Linked DNA regions of Homo sapiens: regions 2 and 3 are each linked to region 1. The links are contacts of gene promoters, found by promoter capture Hi-C in blood cells and fetal thymus (Javierre and others, 2016). All regions are on one chromosome and are shown on one strand. Each heading gives the region's core, a stretch centred on a gene start or on the middle of the fragment in contact. The rest is flanking DNA. Distances are from core to core; before and after follow the strand shown.

Region 1 (3,702 bases), core at 529-3,028:
GCCGAGAGTGAGGTATTTTTCAATTCTAATTAAATTATGGGAAACTAGAACAATAAGCCAGTGAATTGTGGTAGAAGCCCAAGCCTGAATTTTCAGCTGTTAAACATCCCCCTCAAAATAATAATAGCTATTTTAAAAAATCAAACTTATTGCAGCTGATATACCATAAATATCAAAAAATTGAAAACTCAACCAGAAGGCATTTCATTCTATTTTATGATAGTCATGAAGCAGTGCAAAAACATTTAAGGAACACTCTGAAGATGGAATAAATGATGTTTTAAGAAACAGAAATAAGAGGATTTACCAAGCAAACAGAATGAAATTAAGAGTAGAGTTGAAAATGGCAAGACAGCTACTATTTTTCAGTTTTATTTTATTTTTAATTGACAACTGTACATATTTATGAGGTACAAAGTGATATTTTGATACACATATACATGTGGAATGATCAAATCAGAGTAATTAGCGTACCCATTATCTCAAATTTTTATCAGTTCTTTGTGGTGAGAACATTTAATAGAAAGTAAATGTATTCTATTGGAAGCTCAAGTTACTGGTTTCCAGCTGTTACAGCTGAAAGAAAGAGGGAGGAAGGCAGGGAGTAATGGGGAAAAGGAGGGAGGGGAAAGAAAACAGAAAAGGGGGAGCGGGAACATGCAATATTCTTTCAGAGTTAAGAAACTTAATCTGACAGGTTTATAGAATTTCGTTGGAACCTAGAGCAAAATCACAATGGCTGAAGCGTCAATCAGGCCTATAAAAACATCTGTGTTTAGTTTAAATGACTAAGGGTGAAATACATCAGCTTATGGAAAATGGGGAGGGCTCCCAGTATTTGGCCAGCGTTCTAGGTGATGGATGTTGATGAGCAATTCCCTTCAACAACTGATTTACTGCCAACGGACAAAATGCTGGAAGCACATCCAAAAACTTATCTGCAATTAAAATTACAAGCAAGTGGTCACTCTGTTCACCTCCTTTACCAGAGAGGTGACCCTGCTCCCGGCAACTACCTCCACCCAAGGGCCACAGAAGAACTCCTCCTTCCTCTAACCCTCTTTCCTTGGCCTCAAACCTCACGGTAAAACCTGCCTTGCTCTGTCTCCCAATCGCTTTTGTAAAGGAAGCTGGGTGTAGAGCTCTTCTTTCTCCCTCCCTTCCTTTTTTCTTTCCTTCCTTCCTTTCTTCCTTCCTTCTTCCATGCCTTTCTGTCTTTCCAAATTCATTGCTTTGTAAGAAACATTCTCAGATCACCTCCACTCCACTAGAAATCCAACGCAGGCGAGTCGGAGTCAAGCACAGGCAGTGGGCGGGTGGCCTCAGCCGGCACCATCTGGCACCTGCGATTCATCGCCACTTTCCATTCGCCCAGAGGTCAGGGGGGCAGCAGGCAAAGGACACGCAGAGCTCGTGTGTCCCAGTTCCTCTGAAACTTTCAGCTGACCGCACCCTCCCCCGACAAACTCTTTAATCATCCATCAAGCTAGAAGAGTACAGTGACCTCTGCCTGGCCTTTGGAGTTTGCAAAAGAAGCAAGCAATAAAAAGCAAGACCAGGTTCGCCCCTTTGCTTCCTCCACCTCCCAAGAGCAGCGCGCAGCGCGGCGGTGCGGCCGGAAGGGGCCGCTGTTTGCTCAGCGCAGCCACCCCGCCGCTGCAGCCGCCGCGGCCCGCACCTCCCACGGCCGGGCTGGTCCAGCCCCGCCAAGTTCCAACAGCCCCCCCTCGAGCGAGCGCCGGGAACGAGCACCACCAGGGCTGGAGCGGACGGCTTTAGAAGAGCCTAGCTGCTGCGCGCGTCGGAGAGGCTCCTGGGAAACTCCCACGGCCCAGGGACTTTCGAAAGCAGAGCGAGGAGCCCTCGCACGCGCTAGTCTGCGAGTGAGCGCTCAGCCCGGCACCTGTTCCTCCAGCGCCGCCGCCTTCCCACCCCTCGGACCCGCGCCGCTCGCGGCGCCCGCCCGTTCCTGCGATGAATCCGGCCCTAGGCAACCAGACGGACGTGGCGGGCCTGTTCCTGGCCAACAGCAGCGAGGCGCTGGAGCGAGCCGTGCGCTGCTGCACCCAGGCGTCCGTGGTGACCGACGACGGCTTCGCGGAGGGAGGCCCGGACGAGCGTAGCCTGTACATAATGCGCGTGGTGCAGATCGCGGTCATGTGCGTGCTCTCACTCACCGTGGTCTTCGGCATCTTCTTCCTCGGCTGCAATCTGCTCATCAAGTCCGAGGGCATGATCAACTTCCTCGTGAAGGACCGGAGGCCGTCTAAGGAGGTGGAGGCGGTGGTCGTGGGGCCCTACTGACCCGCCCTCTGCCCCCGCGGCAACCGCTCCCACGCCTGCCCACTTTGCTAGCCCGGCTGTGCCCCTCACTATCAGAGACTGGGCGAAGCAAACCTGTCGGAGTCAATTATTTCTCTCGACTTCGGCCTTTCGGAAAGAAGCGACCGGTTTCTCCCTCGCCCTCTGAAAGTCCTCATGCCTGGCAGTCGGAGGAGAGCGCCCAGACTCTGAACTCAGCAGAAAGTGGCAAGAAGAGGGCGATTAGGGCGCAGAACTTTGGAAGCTGCTACTTACTTGGAATGCGGGGAGACCGACGGTGCGAAGGCCCTTCTCCACCCGCAGGTGGGCCAAGCTCTGGGGGCAGGTGGAGAGGGCGGGCAGGGGAGAGACCCAGCGGCACTGATCGCCTTGTGACCGGAAGAGTGACCTGTTAAAAGCCACGCAGCAGACTCATGGGGTCTCACAAATCCGTGTCCGGGTGCGCTCCCACTCTTCTCCTGCTCCCCCCCTGCCCTGGAGGGGAGGGGCGATAAATACCTTTGATTGTAACGTGCCGTTTTAAGAGGTTTTGTGTTTGTTTGCTTGAATACAAATGTTTGATAAGTCTTTTTCTGCCCCAGTGGCCTGTTTGCCTGCCTGAGGAGTTACAGTTTTGTCATTGTGGGAGAAGGGGTGGGGGGAGGGGGAGCCTGCGAATTTGAACGGGGTGAGTTGTTTCTTTTAGTGCATTTCCCACTGGGTCTTTTGGGAGGCGTCTAGCGTTCCTGCTGGCCCTGGGACAAAGACCCAGAATAGAACTCGTAGCTCGTGACTGCACGGTTTACGCCACAAAAGTGCTCTTGACATCCGTGACACCGTTTTGACTTTTTGTTTTTTTCTTATTTAACATTTCCTTAATAAATGCAACATTTAAGCGTTTTGTTCCTGGCCTCCTGGTGGTCATTCTGCGCTCCCCAGCAGGGGGGAACGGGGCGGCGGTGAGGAGTCTGGCTCCCGGCCAGGGCAATTAACCCTGGAGAGCTGCGATTCAACTTGTGGATCCCCTGGAGGGGCGAGGGTGGGGCCAGACGGAGAGGCCCTGGGATGACTGAGAAGGAGCCCAGCCTCAGGCACAGTAGCCGTCCTGGAGGCAGCATCCTTTGTTTCCTCTTATCGTGAATATTTTATATTTCATTTAGTCTCAGCTCTCAGGTAGGCGAGACGACAGAAGGGCCCCCGCGGGAAGATTACACTTCCGTGCCAGGCTCCGGCGGGAACACAGGATTACACCGCTAATGAAAGGAAGAGACGGCTTGGACAGCCTTTAGGGAGGGCGTCTCTACCCTAACCAACGTCAGCCAGGCGGCTTTGGGATGCTGCCCACGGGTGGGGCCGGGGGGCGGAGGGAAGGGGAATTATAAAATGCGAGGAAAAGTAGCT
Region 2 (3,702 bases), core at 796-3,295, 330 kb after region 1:
CAAAGCTGGAGGCATCATGCTACCCAATTTCAAATTATACTACAGGGCTACAGTAACCAAAACAGCATGGTACAGGTACAAAAACAGACATAAAAGCCAATGGAACAGAATGGAGAAACCAGAAATAAGACCACATACCTACAGGTATCTGATCTTTGACAAACCTGACAAAAAAAAAAAAAAAAGCAATGGGGAAAGGACTTCCTACTCAAAAAATTCTGCTGGGATAATTGGCTAGCCATATGGAGAAGATTGATACTGGACCCCTTCCTTATACCATATATGAAAATTAACTCAAGATGGATTAAAGACTTAAATGTAAAACCCAAAACTATAAAAACTCTGGAAGACAATCTAGGCAATACTATTCAGGACATAGGCACAGGCAAAGATTTCACGAATAGGATGCCAAAAGCAATTGCAACAAAAGTAAAAATTGACAAATGGGATCTAATTAAAGACTTCTGTACAGAAAAATAAGCTATCAATGGAAAAAACAACCTATAAAATGGGAAAATATTTTTGCAAACTATGGCACCCAACAAAGTCTAATATACAGCATCTATAAGGAACTTAAACAAATTTACAGGAACAAAACAAACAACCTCATTAAAAAGCAGGCAAAGGACATGAACACTTTTCAAAAGGAGATATGCATGTGGCCAAAAATCATATGAAAAAAGCTCAACATCACTGATCATTAGAGAAATGCAAATCAAAACCACAATGAGATATCATCTCATACCAGTCTGAATGGCTATTATAAGAAAGTCAACAACAGATGCTAGCAAGGTTATAGAGAAAAATGAACTCTTATACACCGTTGGTAGGAGTGTAAATTAGTTCAACCATTGTGGAAGGCAGTGTGGTGATTCCTCAAAAACCTGAAGATAGAAATGCCATTTGACTCAGCAATCCCATTACTGGGTATATACCTAAAGGAATATAAATCTTTTTATTATAAAGACACATGCACGTGTATGTTCATTGCAGCTCTATTCACAATAGCAAAGACAGGGTATCAACCTAAATGTCCATCAGTGATAGACTGGATAAAGAAAATGTGGTACATATACACCAAGGAATACTATGCAGCCATAAAAAGGAAGGAGATCATATCCTTTGCAGGAACATGGACGGAGCTGGAGGCCATTATCCTTAGCAAACTAACAAAGGAACAGAAAACCTAATACTACATGTCCTCACTTATCAGGGAGAGCTAAATGATGAGAACACATGGACACATAGAGGCACACACTAGGACCTTTTGGAGGGTGGAGGATGGGAAAAGAGAGAGGATCAGGATACTAATGGGTACTAGGTTTATCACCTCAGCAATGAAATAATCTGTACAACAAACACCCATGATACAAGTTTACCTATGTCACAAATCTACACATGTACCCTGAACTTAAAAAGAAAGAAATGAAAAAAAAAGAAAGTGTGTGGAATAAAGATCTTCCTTAATTAAGATTTCCCAAAAGAACCCTGATATTATCAGTTGAGTTCAATATTTTACCTGGCCATATCCAAGTGCACTACCACTACCACGGCCATCTCCCATTTATGATATTTCCCTGGGACAAAGTTGTTTTCCTTCATGAGATTTGCTAAATCAGCATTTTTAATCAAGAGGATAATGGTCCAATTACAGGGATATCAAAAGTCATTTCTAATAAGGAAAATAATGGAGAGCTCCATGTTACAGACTTCAGAATATGTAGCAAAGGGCAAGGTGTCAAATATCAGGGTTTAGTACTAGCTCTCCCCAGAAAGCAGATTTGATCTCCTGAATAGAAATAAGCTAGACCCGCTCCATTCAGACTACCAGAGTTGGCCAACATTTTATAGGTAAATTTTTTATTATTATTATACTTTAAGTTTTAGGGTACATGTGCACAATGTGCAGGTTAGTTACATATGTATACATGTGCCATGTTGGTGTGCTGCACCCAGTAACTCGTCATTTAACATTAGGTGTATCTCCAAATGTTATCCCTCCCACCTCCCCCCACCCCACAACAGGCCCCAGTGTGTGATGTTCCCCTTCCTGTGTCTATGTGTTCTCATTTTTCAATTCCCACCTATGAGTGAGAACATGTGGTGTTTGGTTTTTTGTCCTTGCGATAGTTTGCTGAGAATGATGGTTTCCAGCTTCATCCACATCCCTACAGAGGACATGAACTCATCATTTCTTATGGCTGCATAGTATTTCATGGTGTATATGTGCCACATTTTCTTAATCCAGTCTATCATTGTTGGACATTTGGGTTGATTCCAAGTCTTTGCTATTGTGAATAGTGCTCTAATAAACATACATGTGCATGTGTCTTTATAGCAGCATGATTTATAATCCTTTGGGTATATACCCAGTAATGGGATTGCTGGGTCAAATGGTATGTCTAGTTCTAGATCCCTGAGGAATCGCCACACTGACTTCCACAATGGCTGAACTAGTTTACAGTCCCACCAACAGTGTAAAAGTGTTCCTATTTCTCCACATCCTCTCCAGCACCTGTTGTTTCCTGATTTTCAATGATTGCCATTCTAACTGGTGTAAGATGGTATCTCATTGTGGTTTTGATTTGCATTTCTCTGATGGCCAGTGATGATTAGCATTTTTTCATGTGTCTTTTGGCTGCAAAAAATCCAACTTACAAGGGACATGAAGGACCTCCTCAAGGAGAACTACAAACCACTGCTCAAGGAAATAAAAGGGGATACAAACAAATGGAAGAACATTCCATGCTCTTGGGTAGGAAGAATCAATATCATGAAAATGGCCATACTGCCCAAGGTAATTTAGAGATTCAATGCCATCCCCATCAAGCTACCAATGACTTTCTTCACAGAATTGGAAAAAACTAAAGTTCATATGGAACCAAAAAAGAGCCCGCATTGCCAAGTCAATCCTAAGCCAAAAGAACAAAGCTGGAGGCATCATGCTACCTGACTTCAAACTACACTACAAGGCTACAGTAACTAAAATAGCATGGTACTGATACCAAAACAGAGATATAAACCAATGGAACAGAACAGAGCCCTCAGAAATAATGCCGCATATCTACAACCATCTGATCTTTGACAAACCTGACAAAAACAAGAAATGGGGAAGCAATTCCCTATTTAATAAATGGTGCTGGGAAAACTGGCTAGCCATATGTAGAAAGCTGAAACTGGATCCCTTCCTTACACATTATACAAAAATTAATTCAGGATGGATTAAAGACTTAAACATTAGACCTAAAACCATAAAAACCCTAGAAGAAAACCTAGGCAATGCCATTCAGGACACAGGCATGGGCAAGGACTTCATGTCTAAAACACCAAAGCAATGGCAACAAAAGCCAAAATTGACAAATGGGATCTAATTAAACTAAAGAGCTTCTGCACAGCAAAAGAAACTACCATCAGAGTGAACAGGCAACCTACAGAATGGGAGAAAATTGTTGCAATCTACTCAACTGACAAAGGGCTAATACCCAGAATCTACAATGAACTCCAACAAATTTACAAGAAAAAAAACAAACAACCCCATCAAAAAGTGGGTGAAGGATATGAACAGACACTTCTCAAAAGAGGACATTTATAGGTGCATTTTAATGGAACTAATGTATCATAAATTTCTTCTTCCATTAAGCCTATCCCTGACATCAAAGGTGTTGAATCATATAAGTCAAATAATATAGTACATCAGGACTT
Region 3 (3,702 bases), core at 757-3,256, 310 kb after region 1:
GATTGATGCAGCTGCAAGCCAAGGAATGATATCCTCATCTCAAAACTATGTCCCCCTCCCAGACCCTGAATGAATCCTAACTTGATTTCGGTAGACCCAGACAAATAGTTTGATATCATGTCACTCTCACCCATAGGCTCAACAAGGACAGAGCATCCCAGGGGTGACCATTCCTCTGATCTCTGCCTCACAACTCACCTCAGGGTAACCAGTCTTCTGCCCAAGCTAAAGCACCCAACACACCCCCATCGGTAAGAATACACTTCTACTCTGCTTTTCCAAAGAGAAAAGTACAGTCATATGGTTTATGTCTAAGTAGTCTATTTAGCCCAATTGCTGTTTGGAATTATATAGATATAGATATAGACATAGATATAGATATAGATATATATTACAAGATATATACATATATCTTGTAATGTTCACAGTATGCCTAGTATACAAGTTACTAGTATACAAGTCATTATTCTCATTCCCTGGAGGAGATATCCGAAGCACATGAAGCTTAAATAATCTGCCTTAGACATTCAGTTAGTAAACAATGGAGCCAAAATTAAAACCAAGGACTGCCTGCAAAAGTGTCAAAGTACAAAGAAAATGAATAATGTTTGTTTTAGATCATCTCTTAGGGATGTTCAGTCTTTTTCAGTTTTTCAGATTACCTTACCCTCTCTTTCATCTTACCAAGGTATTATCTGAATCTGTAAGGTCATTTGCTGGATCCTTTGTTGGCATGGGAAGAAAAAGTCTCCTATTTGTACCACGTGATTTTGTGCCACTCTTCTAGCCCTTAATGAAAAACATTTCTTTGTTTGCCCAGGTACTAGTGACCCTGCTGGCTATCAACTGGCTAAGGATGGCAGGGCATTGTTGGTACCTGCCCAAGAGCCCTAGCTCATGACCTGTTCTCCTCCACCTTGGTCAGGGCCTAGTGGTATTGTCTACTGGCCTGGACCCACCTCAGCTCTCAGTGGTGCTTTAAATCCCCTTAGGGTTGGCAGTGAATCCTAAGTAGTCTGTCCAAAAGTCCTTTAATACAGAGTCTCTTCATCCCTGCAATCACTATGTTTTCTGGCAAGCTCCCCACCCTAACTCCCAGCTAACATTCTATCTCTCTACTTCAAGAGAAGCCTGGGATTTGGCATTTCTATCTCCACTGTATGAAAAACGAAGGTGGCTTACAGGAGCTACACCAAGGCTCCCTCTATGCATGCACCATCCCTCTAACACTAATACAGTCTCCCACAGGTAGATATAGGACTCTTTACAATAAAATACTAGGCTAGGATATCAAATATAGATTGGTACAAGAGATGTGCTGCTTTATATTCCCATCCATATGTCTTTGTCTCTCCTCTAGGACTTCAGTCAATCCGAAGTGGTTCACTTCTCATCTCTGCCTCTTTCTTCCCAAATGTCCTGCACTAGAATGGTATGCTCCCCACTCCTTTCAACATGAACCCCATCATGTTATAACCTTCTTCTACCTGTGCAAATGATTACCATGTCTCCTCCTATTAATGATGGAAGGGCTATCTTTTCTGTGTTATGGAAGAAAGTAATCTACATGGTCAGTCCTGGCTTTTAATGTTAATAGACAATTATCAGCTGAAATAGTTTCAGCTATAATTAACAGAAAATAACTCAATTTGGCTTAAATAGTACAGAAACAGCATTATCTGATATGGTTATTCCCAAGATAAGGCCATTTTAGGTTTTTATATTTAGTGCTCAGCTGTGTCATAAAACACAGTTTTCTTACTTCTTTCTGCCTTGCCATCCTTAGCCAGGTTACAGCCAGATTCTAGGTGTCACAGGCAGACACAATAATATCTAGCAAAAGAAAATAACAGCTTTTTCCTCTTCAGGTTTGGGAAGGATTGTTGGTAAACTTCTCTAATGAAGTATAATATATTTCATTAGAAATTCACCAACATATAAGAGTTACTGTTGTCCCACATTCTTGTCAACACTTGTCACTTTTTTTTTGTTAGCCATTCTAGTGAGTACCTTGATATTGGTGGAGTTGTTTTTGCATTTCTAAATAATAATTATTTAATGTTAATTAGTTTAATATAGTGCTTCCTCTGTAATAATTTTATGTCACATGCTTTTTAAAACTAATGCTCACTATCTAATGATGTAACCATTTACTCAATTCATGCACTCAATTAGTTGCCAAAACAATATTCCAGTAACTTTTTATAGCAAGGAAAGCCTTGATCAGAAGCATTTACAGCTTCTCACTTCTCAGATGTGCATCACGTGCCTATACATAAACTGGTTTTTGGCAAAGGCAACGAGACGACCATAATTGGCTTAGACCACTCATGATTCAGCCCCAGGCTGATACAGGAGTATATCTCCCTTAAGGTGCACTACCAGTGGGGTAACCGAATTGAATCAGAGTTTTGTTAGAAAAAAGAAGGAAAAGTTACTGTTACTGAGTAGACAAACAAAAGTGTACACTAAAATGCTGATGGAATTTTAAAAAATAATTTCATCTCTTGATAAAGTCTAGCTTTCATAATTATTTTATCTATTCAGAACCTTACTTTGTTAATCAAAAGCTAAATAACTGCTATATTAGACAAATGGATGAATCAGAATAACTAGTCAGAAAATCATATACATGGAGATGCAAATGAGAAATGTATTTCAAAAGCAACTTCCTCACTGACTTAAAATCAGTCTGTCATCAAAACATTATGGGCTATAGTCTGAATTTCAAATAAGGTAACATTTGTTAGATAATGTTAACTTCATTTGTTTCAGTTGGCTAATGACCAACATGTATTTGGAAGTCAGAAAGCCTGTGTTTAGCCATACAATGCATCATTTGGCTACTAGCAGTGATATTTGGCTTGCAATGAGACACTATTTTTTCTTCTGTGTGACACTTCGGTGCTTAGCCAGCTGCTTAAGTTAATTATAAATTTTGCTATCTATTGTCAGAAATCACCTGTTCCAGACTTTGGCTATAACACATGTTTACATATCCATATATACATTTCTTCTTATAATTACTTTAGGTTCAAAGAAAGATAAAATCCCTCAAGTCTGAGGTTGAATCTTCCTCATTTCCCTAATAAACAAAATTGCTTAAATCTTAACAAGATGTGGCTTTCTTTGGATAAAATTTGTTATTAAAAAAAACAATTAGCTTAAAAGAATCTTTCTCTGATATATTATTATATCAACCAAATAAACATCTTCATGTGTAGAAAAATATGAGATGAAAATATTTAAGGAACGTATTAGGTTTATTTTGTTACCTCTATTGTTTGCTAAAAAGATTCTAATTTGACCTTGCTATGATCATATAGTCTACAAAAACATATTCTTAAGATTTAAGACTGTAACCGTAATTTTCATTAAATCTTCAAAGTAAATTTAATGGGATTTTATAAATTAGATAATAGTTGTAATTACTCATACTTACTAATTAAATTGGCTTTACTTAAACATGAAGATTAGTTGGTTTTAAACAAACATATTCCCAAGCTTAATTTTGGATAAGGGCAGTTACATAAATTCTTTTCTAGGTACAAAAAAGTAAAACCACACATGCTAATGAGGTCAAGGACCAGCCCCTCCCAAATTTTCATTTCCACACATGTCAGCAAACAGCTGGGAGCTAACAACAGTAGGGGTTGTACTTTTGACCCCTTTAAATATAAAATGGCTCTGCTTTGAAAAGAC

Evidence for each region. Contacts are between HindIII fragments. The CHiCAGO score rates a contact against its expected background, and 5 or more counts as called.
Region 2: a contact is called between a fragment that was not itself captured here and the fragment with the promoter of RPRM in region 1, in 1 of 17 cell types (naive CD8 T cells). The highest score is 6.6, in naive CD8 T cells.
Region 3: a fragment that was not itself captured here is called in contact with the fragment with the promoter of RPRM in region 1 in 1 of 17 cell types (naive CD8 T cells); the score reaches 5.7 in naive CD8 T cells.

What each region holds. Positions count from the first base shown.
Region 1 is chr2:153,476,838-153,480,539 of GRCh38, reverse strand. RPRM (reprimo, TP53 dependent G2 arrest mediator homolog) reads left to right here and starts at 1,778. Exons shown (of 1, transcript NM_019845.3): 1 at 1,778-3,202. The coding sequence starts at 1,975. The coding sequence ends at 2,304. It also overlaps a transcript of GALNT13 not described here. RefSeq lists a silencer at 1,544-1,743 and enhancers at 2,100-2,603, 2,604-3,107, 3,108-3,611. The HindIII fragment of the contact is 6,762 bases long and covers 1-3,702 here.
Region 2 is chr2:153,150,147-153,153,848 of GRCh38, reverse strand. It overlaps a transcript of GALNT13 not described here. Among named protein-coding and RNA genes, the nearest start is that of RPRM, 330 kb to the left of the region's middle. The HindIII fragment of the contact is 5,651 bases long and covers 1-3,702 here.
Region 3 is chr2:153,169,765-153,173,466 of GRCh38, reverse strand. It overlaps a transcript of GALNT13 not described here. Among named protein-coding and RNA genes, the nearest start is that of RPRM, 310 kb to the left of the region's middle. The HindIII fragment of the contact is 3,000 bases long and covers 507-3,506 here.